2 separate regions of the Homo sapiens genome follow, and region 1 is linked to region 2. Evidence: promoter capture Hi-C in human tissues and cell types (Jung and others, 2019). All regions are on one chromosome and are shown on one strand. Each heading gives the region's core, a stretch centred on a gene start or on the middle of the fragment in contact. The rest is flanking DNA. Distances are from core to core; before and after follow the strand shown.

Region 1 (5,296 bases), core at 1,884-4,383, 160 kb before region 2:
GGGAAGGTTTTTGATACATTTAATTTCTTTAATATATAGGGCTATTTAGATATTTTGTGACTTCTAGGGTCAGCATTGGTAACTTGAGTCTTCCAAGGAATTGTCCATGTCACTTACTTTGATGAAGAGAGAATTTGGGGTTGACAGTTTTTCTTTTAATACTTTAAAGATGTAGTTCCATTGCCTTCTGGCCTCCATTATTTCTGATGAAAAGTCATCCATCATTTGTGTTACTTTCCCCAGCGATATTATGAGCCCTTTTCCTCAGGCTGTATACGAGATTTTCTCTTTCTCTTTAGCTCTAAACAGTTTGTGGTGTGCCTCGCAGTGGTTTGCTTTGAATTTATTCGACTTAGGGTTCATTGGCCTTAATCTGTACATTTGTGCTTTCACCAAATTTAGGAGAATTTCTACCTTTTTTCTAATATTTTGTCTACTCTACTTGCTGTCTCCATTCCTTTTGTGACTCCAGTTACAAGTGTATTAGGTTGTTTGGTAATGTTTCATAGGTCATGAGGAACTGTTCTTTGTACATTTTTCCTCTCTCTTTCTTCAAATTTGGTCATTTAAAAAATCTGTTTTCAAGTTTACTAATGTTTTCTTCTGCCAGCTTCAATCTTTTGCTAAGCCTATCCAGTGACTTTTTCATTTTAGCTATCTTACACTTAAGTGTTAAAGTATCTGTTTGGTTCCTTACATATTTTCCCATTTTATGTTGAGAATTCTTTCATCCATTCACTCATTACAGTCTGCCTTTCTCATAATTCCTTGAACATTTCTGTAACAATATTTTAAATTATTTGTCTGCTAATTCCAAAATATAGGTCAAATCACAGTATATTTACATTGATTGCTTTTCTTTTTTCTATGGCTCACATTTTTCAGTTTCTTCACATATCTACTCATTTTTTATTGTTTATTGGCTATTGTTCAGACTTTGGATTCTATTATCTTTCTGTGAAAATTGTTGATTTTTTTCTAATAAGCAATTAATTTATCAGATAATCATCTTGTATTTGTGGAGATTTATTTAAACTTTTTTTGGGGGGTAACTCTATTTAGACTTTTCCTTTAGCTAAAAAAAGTCTTAATTCTGGAACATAGGCTTTACTCCTAAGTTATAATCTTTTGGGGATTTCAATGGAAGCCTAAGGTTTTTTACCAAGCTCCTGTAACTTGGCAGGATTTAAATTGCAAATCTGGCTCTTCTGTTGTGAGCAGCAGCTGAAATATCAATTCAGCTTTTCCAGCTTCAATTTCCCTTCAACCTCCTTAAGATCTCCCTTATATGCATCACCAAGGATTTGAAGGGAGTTTATTCACAGATTTGTGGCTCTCCCTTCTGTGACTCCCTCTCCTATTGGATTTCCTTCCTCAATTTCCAACTACTTTGGGAACCCAAATGCTATGTTATGATACTTCCAAACAACTTTACTACACTTTTTGCTTGAGTTCTGTCTTCCCTACATCATGGAGACTGTCGGCTGCCCTCAAACATTGAGTCTTCTTCAGCTTCTATTATAGGTTGTACTTCAATGCTTTAAAATATATTACAGTGTCTGTCTTTTTGTTTGTTCAAAGTTTTTAATTGCTTTCTTAAGTAAAACTAGTCCGGTAAAGCTATTTTAGCCATTATCAGCCTTCATAACTTCTTTCTTAAGTTTGTTGAATGGTATGTTCTGACTGGACCAGACAATGTATGGACTTATCAGGCAAGAGTCATTTTAAGAGAGCCATTTATTGTTGAAGTCCCTGGTCTTCTACCCCTTTGTCTTTTCCTACTTCCCATTCCAACTCTCATTAATCAGAGGTCATCTATGAGCCTGGCATTTTGTGTACAGCTTCATTGGACATTCAAAGGGCACTGTACAAGAATCTTACCACAACCTCTAATTTATGGGGCTTGGAACCACGATGAGAAATAATGTTAACCTTGTCTACAATTGGATTCTGAGCCATGCAGATGTTTCAAAGGGCTCAAGGGCTACATAGGAGCCAGATCACAGCAATGGATAAGGAAGTTTTTGACAGCCATAAGGGGAGGTAGTGGGATTAATGCAAAAGAGCCACAATTCTGGCCATATAAAGAAGCTGGGCTTGACTAATGAACCACCCCCACCTCCAATCCATGTCTCAGCTTGTGCCCATAGTCTCTGAGCAGAAGAGGGTCATTTGGGAAAATGGATAGAGAACATATCATGAGAGGGAGGAGCTCAAGTTGCAACACTGCTTCTTCCTCTACTTCCCAGAGAACTGGGGAGGAGAATAGAAAAACTAGTCTCATGGGGGCAAAGATCCCCACCAAGGGTCACAGGCAGGAAGAGGGAAAGGTGTCCTGGGTATGAGAGAGCCCCTCACACTGGGGCCCAGTGTTCCATGAGACAAGACATCAGTGGCACAGCAAAGTGAGCCACCAACCACAGGTCCCTGAGATTAGGGCCGGCCAAGGTACAGGAGGGATAACCTTGAGGTATTCTTCACATTTCAAAGATCAAGAAGAAGTCCTACAGGCATTCAGGTTGGGGGAGAAACCTCAATGGTTAAGAGCAGAGGGAGGGAATGTCACTATCATAGTCCTCATTCAGGGCACCAAATGCAACTGGACAACAGGACAGCAACTCAGACTTTCGAGGAGCCAAAATTCATCACCCAAGATTTCTGTATTCTCTCAGGCCAGTGTTTACATTGTGAGGATGATAGAGAGATACGTTCATAGATATAGGACTCAAAAGGTTAGATGAGCAAGAACTGGATGAAAATAAAGATTACAAGGAAGGCATGGTCCAAAGACATGACAGTAGGAATCCAACCCAGCAGGGCATATATTAATGTCCAGATGATTAATATGCTTATAGAGTGTAAAGGCAAAAATAGTTATTGCAAGAATACATAACAAATAAAATGTGTCATAAATCAAGCACAAGATGCCCGTGTTAGTCAAACAAAACCTGAGTGTTGGAAGCAAGGAAAGGAGAAAATCGAGCATGCTAAAGTTTCTCATTTTATATGGGGTGAAAGACAGTTGTTGGTATATTATTAATGCTGGTGGAGAAATAGAGGTATAAATATGGGGATTAAGTAAGGTGGACTTGGTAGAATAAAAGCGTTTTGCTTTTAAATTACAAAAAAAAAAGAGTCAGCAAGAAAATAACCTTAGCAATATAATGAATAATAATAGCAAAGCATGGAAGCGTGAAACAACAGGAAGCATAACAGACGACTTAAAATAAGACCAAATAAAACCTGATTACAGTAAGACCGAGAGAGAGAACATCCAACTATCAAATGAGTCAGAAGATAAAATCTAACTCTCTTTCTCATTCACAAGCTGTGGAAAATCAAACACAGCAGCACTGTGGAGCTCAGGCAGCCCCCCAGAGCAGCCCGCGTGGGTTCCAAGGAGTGTTCTGCTGTGCACCATGTGAAGCCCAGAACCAGGGAGATGCACAGTAAAGAAAGAACAGAGATGCAAGTGAGGACATCAGAAAAAAGTACAATACCACTGGAAACGTGTAGAAGGATGTCAAAAGGTTGTCTGCGTATTAAAAATTACAATTCCACACAAAGCCAACATTTGCTATGTGCCTTGCATGGTTCTATACAATTTACAATCATCGATTTGTGATTCACTCCTGCAGACAACTCTCACAATTGCTCTTTCTGTGTCAGAGATGAGGAAGCTGTGTTTTTGGAGCCCCTATCTCCTGCTTAAAATAGCTCTGAATCCCTCCTCCTCTCCACTGTCTCCAACCAGGGCATCCCCAGGAGCACTTTAAGTCAGACATCACAGACTTTGAGAGCTCAGAAGCAATGAACACACAGGGGACTGTGAACACCCAGCCAGCCTTGAGAGATGAAGAGCAGAAGAGGTTTGAACACGATGATATGATTAATACACTTGGCTCTGTGGCTCAGACTTTGTTCCCCAAAGACACATCAGGTGGATATTTTTTCAAACACCCGTGAGTCATTTAAGAATATCTACCTAAGAGAGATGGCTTGGGGCATCAAACCAGATCCTGGACCAAAAAGAACATCTTGGAAAATTATTTTTTTTAAATGTTGAAATCATACAGGCCACATTCTCTGACCACATTGCAATAAGTTAGATATCTATCACAAAAGAGGGAAAACAGAAAAATACCAAACCACTTGGAAGCTTTCCAAAATCTTTCTTAACTCTTTGCTTAATGAAAAAATAAAAAATCGTAACTCATGTGATTTGGCTGTATGTCCCCACTCAAATCTCATCTCAAATTATAATCCCCACGTGTTGAGGGAGGAAACTGTAATCCCCATGTGCCAAGGGAGGGAAGTGATTGGATCACGGAGGCAGTTTCCCCCATGCTGTTCTGGTAATAGTGAGTAAGTTCTCACAAAATCTGATGGTTTTATAAGGGTTTGGAAGTTTCTCCTTCATTCTTCTCTCTCCTGCAGCCTTGTGAAGAAGGTGTTTGCTTCCCCTTTGCCTTCTGTCATGATTGTAAGTTTCTTGAGGCCTCCCCAGCCATGTGGAACTGTGAGTCCATTAAATTTCTTTCCTTTACAAATTATCCAGTCTTGTGTATTTCTTTATAGCAGTGTGAGAATGGACTAATACAGTAAAAAATTCCGGTAAAGTCCTGGTAGCCACAATACCACATATCAAAACACATGAGATGAGGCTAATGTTGTAATTAGAAGAAAATTTATATTTCTCAGTGCTCTAATCATTAGAAAGAGAGAAGTGAAATTCACTATTATGCATAAGAGGAGCCACAAAATAAATGATGGGAAAGCAGGAGATTGTGTGTCAATCTACCCAGCTTTTCCATTTCTGCTGCTAATGTCTGCTGTATCATAACTAATTACAAAGTCAAGAGCAGGTGCCTTAAAAACAAACACAGTAAGAAGTAAAAACTAAAAGAAGATCAAGCATTCATTACCAGCCTGGGCAACAGAGTGAGACCCTGCTTCAAACATAAAAATAAAAAGAAGGAAGGAAGGGAGGGAGGAAAGAAGGAAGGAAGGAGAGAGAGACAGAGAGAGAGAAAGACAGACAGAGACTTTGGCAAAACTGGAAAAGAATAAAGATAGGAAGCATAACTATGTACTGTTAAGAAGGCTGACAGGTTTAACCAGAAATGCACAAGAAATTTGTTTTTAAATTATAAGAGATAAGGAGGCAGAACAAGATGACCAATTAGAAGCCTCCACCAATCGTCCTTCCCACAGAAACACCAAACTGGACAACTGTTCACACTAAAACAGCATAATAAGAACCAAAAATCATGTGAGTGATCACAGTACCTGGTTT
Region 2 (5,007 bases), core at 1,604-4,103:
CTGAAACCAAACAGAAAGGGAAGCTGTCCGTCCATGGCAGCGGGCAAGGGCGTGCACACTCACGAGGGTTCCACGGAGCAAAAGTAGGATAATTTCTGGGCAGACCTGCCGTCCGAACGGCTGGGAGCTGCGGGCCCCCCGGCGCTCCCTGTGTCTTCTGAGCAGAGACCAGGCTCAGCATCCCGCAGACCCCCACCCTCCCTAGGCAGAGGCAGGAGTGGGCCCTAAGCCAGCAGTACACGCCCTCCAGGACCTGGGGTCCTCCACAGAAGATGGGGGCATGGAAGGGAGGCCCCCACGCCCTGGCCCAACAGGCACTGCCTGCCTCAGCCCGTCAGACAATGCTAAGTGTCCTCTGCCCTCACTGCACCTGTGGAAGAGCAGGTCCAGGCTGCGCCACACGCCCACTCTCAGGGACAAACTTTTCCTCTCAGGTGTTTCCTCACTTGCTCATTCATTCCTTCTTTGTGTCGCATACGTGTGCCCCCACTGTCTAGCCAGGCAAAGACACCAAAGCAGGAGGGGGTGGTCTTGGTCAGAGCCACAAGGGTCACTGTGGTGGCTGGGATTCGAGGCATCAACTATGTCCTCAAACCCATCCACGTGTCCTGTGTGGAGCGGCCCCAGGGACAGCGGTGGAAGAGGGGGCTGATCAGCCTTGCCCATCCTCCCAGAGTCCCAGTCTGGACCCTGCACCCGACTAGCACGGGCAGCCTGGCGGCTCCTGCCCTGGTGACAGCGGGCGTGTGCAGCATTGCCAGGAGGGAAGCAGGGGTAGCTGCAGCTGCTCAGGATCCTGCGGCTCCTCCCAGGTGCAAACACGGCTTTTGCTTCCAATGCCCCCGGCGGCATGTGCATCCTCTCCAGGGAAGGCCCTGGCTACAGGTCTCCTGGCCTGCGGAATGGGAATGATTCCAGGACCTGCGATGGTGGTAAGGACTTCCTTAGGAGATGAAGCCACCCAGGGGTCACCAGGGCCAGGCAGAGGCTGCCACCATCGCGTTCTAAGCCCTGCTGTCCACACTGCCATCCAGAGGCCCAGAACTAGGCTGGAGGAAGGACTTGCCTGGAGGAATAACCCAACCTGGTCAGATTAAGAGGAGGCGTAGACAGTGACGGGGTAACTATAGAGCCTCAGGCCGGGTTAACCTCAAGTCCAGCTTCCTAGGCCCAGGCAGCCCTGCCTGATCCCGCAGTGCGTGAGACCACACAGAGAGAGAGCGGGATCGTGGGCCCAGGCTCCTGACCGTGCTGGATAAGGTGTGCAGGCAGCCACGCCAGGCCCAGGCAAGAAGGAGCAAGCCTGGAGCATGTACTGAACAGGGGTCTGTGAGTCACAAAATGTGACGCAGCAGAGGGTATGTGGGGGAGGGCAGGGAAATGCACACTTGGATTGGGTCCCCAAAGCCTCCCTCTCCAGCAATGACTCAGTGTCTCTGGGTGAAGGAGCAACCTTCTCTGGGAGGCAGGGCAGGAAACCCCAAGAGCCCAGGGGGAGGGCACCCCACCTTCCTGCTCCAGCCCCACACAGCGGCTGAGAGCCCCAGGCACAGAAGGGGTAGGGAATGTTGCCACCACCCCCACCACGGACCCCGCTGCAGCTTCCAGGTGATGCCACAGGCCCTGAAATCAGGACACCCTTGCTGTACATGGGGGTCATCTTGAGGTTCTCTGCCAAGGATACTGACCTCTATGCCTGCCCCCAATTCTGCAGCTCAGGCACCTGGCTTCACCGCCAGGCCTTACCATGTGGAGAACAGGGGGCCGGGGTGGGGGGTCTGGGAGCCAAGGAAGGAGTGAAGCCCTCCAGACACCAACATCGCAGTCCTCGCCCCCTCCCTACAGACCCCATCCAGCCCAACTCCCCATGTGCAGCTAAAGCCACGCGCCCTCCTACCATACAAGGTGCAGGCAGCCCTCCCGCCTTCTTCAAAGAGGCATCTGCTCCGGCTCACTCCACCCTCCTCCCCCAGTGGCCTAACTAGTCGCCGGGTTCCAACCCTATCCCTTCTCCAGAGGTCATCTGGCCCCACCCAGCAGCCCAAACCAGTAGACCGGCCCTGCCCCATCACTTTGGTTTCTCCAGCATCCAAAGAACGTGGAGGGTCACCCCCCCAAAACAGCTGTCAAGGTCCAACAATTAAGCCATCTGTTGCCGCTCCCTGGGACTGGGAGAGGTGAGGTCGAGTTTCTTGGCGAGTTTCCTGCGTGCAGCCCCCACACCACAAAAGCCCCCGGTGCGAGCCGGAGCCCAGCGCGAGACGGCTGGAAGGGCGCGGGGAGGGAGCCGCTGCGGGGTGCAGGCGGGGAGAGGGGCGGCGGCTCGAGGCGCGGCCGGCGGGCGGAGGGTACGGAGGCGCCGGGAGAGCGTTCTCGGGGCGCGCTGCCAGGGTGCAGGAAGCCGGAGCGCGCGGGAGGGAGCGGGGAGCGGGATGCCGATTTCGGCTGGGGGCGGGGAGGCCCCTGATTGGGGCGCGGGAGGCGTGATGTCACGTCCGGCGGGGGAAGCCCTGCCTCGCGCACCCTCCGCCCCCGTCCCCGCCCCCACAGGTGGTGCCACCGCCCTGGGCGCTGGGCGTGGGGGGCCGCCCTCGGGGACCCCGGCCGCGGCCCCGCGCTGCCCGGCTCCGCCGCCTCCCGCCGGGGATCGATAGAGTCGCGCGGCCAGGCGGGCCCTCTGGGTCCCTAAGAGCCAGAGGAGCGCCCAGTGCGCCCCGGCCCGCGCCCCCGCGCCGCGCCCCGCCCCGCCCCGCCCGGTGCTCCCAGTCCCTCCCCCACCCCTGCGCTCCCACCCTGCCCCGCCCCTCTCCTCTCCCGCGGCCGCCTAGGGGCCGGGCCGGCGGCGGGGGAGGCGCCGAGCCGGGACTGCGCTAGCCCGCCGCGCTCTGGGCTGCCCGAGCGAGCGTTCGGACCTCGCACCCCGCGCGCCCCGCGCCGCCGCCGCCGCCGGCTTTTGTTGTCTCCGCCTCCTCGGCCGCCGCCGCCTCTGGACCGCGAGCCGCGCGCGCCGGGACCTTGGCTCTGCCCTTCGCGGGCGGGAACTGCGCAGGACCCGGCCAGGATCCGAGAGAGGCGCGGGCGGGTGGCCGGGGGCGCCGCCGGCCCCGCCATGGAGCTCCGGGCCCGAGGCTGGTGGCTGCTATGTGCGGCCGCAGCGCTGGTCGCCTGCGCCCGCGGGGACCCGGCCAGCAAGAGCCGGAGCTGCGGCGAGGTCCGCCAGATCTACGGAGCCAAGGGCTTCAGCCTGAGCGACGTGCCCCAGGCGGAGATCTCGGGTGAGTGAGGGCGCGGCGCCGGGAACCCGGGCCTGGCCGGGCTTTGGGCTCCGGACCCTGGTCTTCCCGACGCGGCTACTCGCCCCCGGCGCGGGATCCTGCCGCCTGCGCCCCGCCGCCCGGGCCCCGAATGGCTCCCTGCGCTGCGGCTCCTCTGCAACCCCACGGCCCTCGCCTCCAAGCCCCGCGCCGCACTCCCTCGCCAGGGTCTCCTCCGCCCCGCTCGGTCGTCCTCCGCCCCTCCCCGCCCCCCGCACGCCGGCTTCTTCCCTGCGGAGCTGATCTCGCCGGGCTGCGGGCTCGGGGCGCTCCTCCCGGGCCACGGCTGGAGCTGGGCGTCTTCTGCCCGCCGCTCGGCCCAGCGCGCCTGCAGGCCGGGAGTCCCAGCCCCGGGGCCGGCTGTCGGGGCGCTGTGGGGCTCGGCGTGGCCGGGCTTTCGGGGCGCCGCTGACGGTGGCCGCGGACCCCTTCTGCTCTGTACAGACCTCTCTGGGAGGCGTCTCCGGTCCTGCCCGGGGATTCTCGTAGGGTCTCCAGCAAAGGCAGCCTAGGTGGGTTTTATAAGCTGACCCCCTCGGGGGGTAGTGCGGAGGGGTGGGGAGGGAGCTGGGCACTTATCCGCGGGCGGAACGCCGCCGCCTCGTAGAGATTCCTGTCGAAGAACTTGTACGCGCCGGCCCCCGCCTGGCGCTTGGGCAGCCTCGTGCCGCGAGTCCAGCTGCAGGTGGTCGGCGCGTTGGATCCCGCCCAGGGGCCGTGTCATTTCTTTGTAAGAACAGCGGCCCTCTTGGCGCCCCCTAAGCCCTGCAGCCGCCTGCGGCTCTGCCTCTTCCCTCCCTGTGGTCCCGGAGGAGCTTTGGGGACAGAAGTGTACGGGTGGGTGGAACGGTGGGCTCCGTGTGCTAAGGAACTCTTGGAACCCAAGCTTCACCTTTCCACGTGTGGGAACCAACCTCGGTCTGTACCGCGTGCCAGGGACCCAGTGGGCAAGAACAAAACAGACTAGGTTCCTGCTCTGGGGGGCTCCTCTGAAACCAGGGGAGTGGGAGTGCGGGTGGAGGGCTACTCAGATGGGGACTCAGCGCAGAAATGCCCATGGTCCTGGGGATTCTGAGCAAGAAGGATCCGTGCATCTGGGTGAGGGGGGTCTGTGGCCATGCCTTGCCGCGGGGGGCGGAGTGGTGGGAGGAGGCAGTCGGGCTCTGGACCCCTGCCCCTCCAGGAGGAACAGAACCCACAGACAGCCCCTTGCCCTTGGTGGATCTCCCGATGCCCCCAGCCTGAGGTTCTTGTAAGGGCCCCCTGACCGCCCCCCACAGAAGGAACAGAACCCGCAGACAGTCCCTTGGCGGATCTCCCGATGCCCTCCCCACCAGCCTGAGGTTCTTGCAAGGACCCCTCCAAAGTCCCCAGGACAGGCCTTCCTGTGCCTCTGCAGAGGCAACCCTGTCATTTCCAGGCTGCCCCCCTCACCCCACTGGGCTCTGTCTGTCCCAGGTAGGGGGCACACCTGGATGCCAGGCAGCACAAGGCCCTCGGCACAGTTGGGTTCGTTCTCTGCCCCTCTACTCACACATAAAGAGGCATCCCTGGCCTTCCTGGTGAATCCCTCCCCAGGCACCAGGGTAGCAGAGTGGCTGAGTGGCTGCCCCTCCCAGCCCAGAGTCTTGAACCCTGCTCCTTTGGAAACCATTAGCCCCCAGCCCTTCTTAGCACCTCCATGTCCTCTGGG

The links. Contacts are between HindIII fragments. The study calls those that stand out against the background at their distance.
Region 1: a contact is called between a fragment that was not itself captured here and the fragment with the promoter of GPC1 in region 2, in 1 of the 25 tissues and cell types used here (dorsolateral prefrontal cortex).

Annotation. Positions count from the first base shown.
Region 1 is chr2:240,271,671-240,276,966 of GRCh38, forward strand. No RefSeq gene overlaps it. Among named protein-coding and RNA genes, the nearest start is that of OTOS, 130 kb to the left of the region's middle. The HindIII fragment of the contact is 5,374 bases long and covers 447-5,296 here.
Region 2 is chr2:240,432,810-240,437,816 of GRCh38, forward strand. It overlaps GPC1 (glypican 1), which reads left to right and starts at 2,854. Exons shown (of 9, transcript NM_002081.3): 1 at 2,854-3,275. The coding sequence starts at 3,110. RefSeq lists enhancers at 1,223-1,517, 1,917-2,493, 4,227-4,803, 4,855-5,007 and silencers at 2,323-2,982, 3,043-3,102. The HindIII fragment of the contact is 16,928 bases long and covers 1-5,007 here.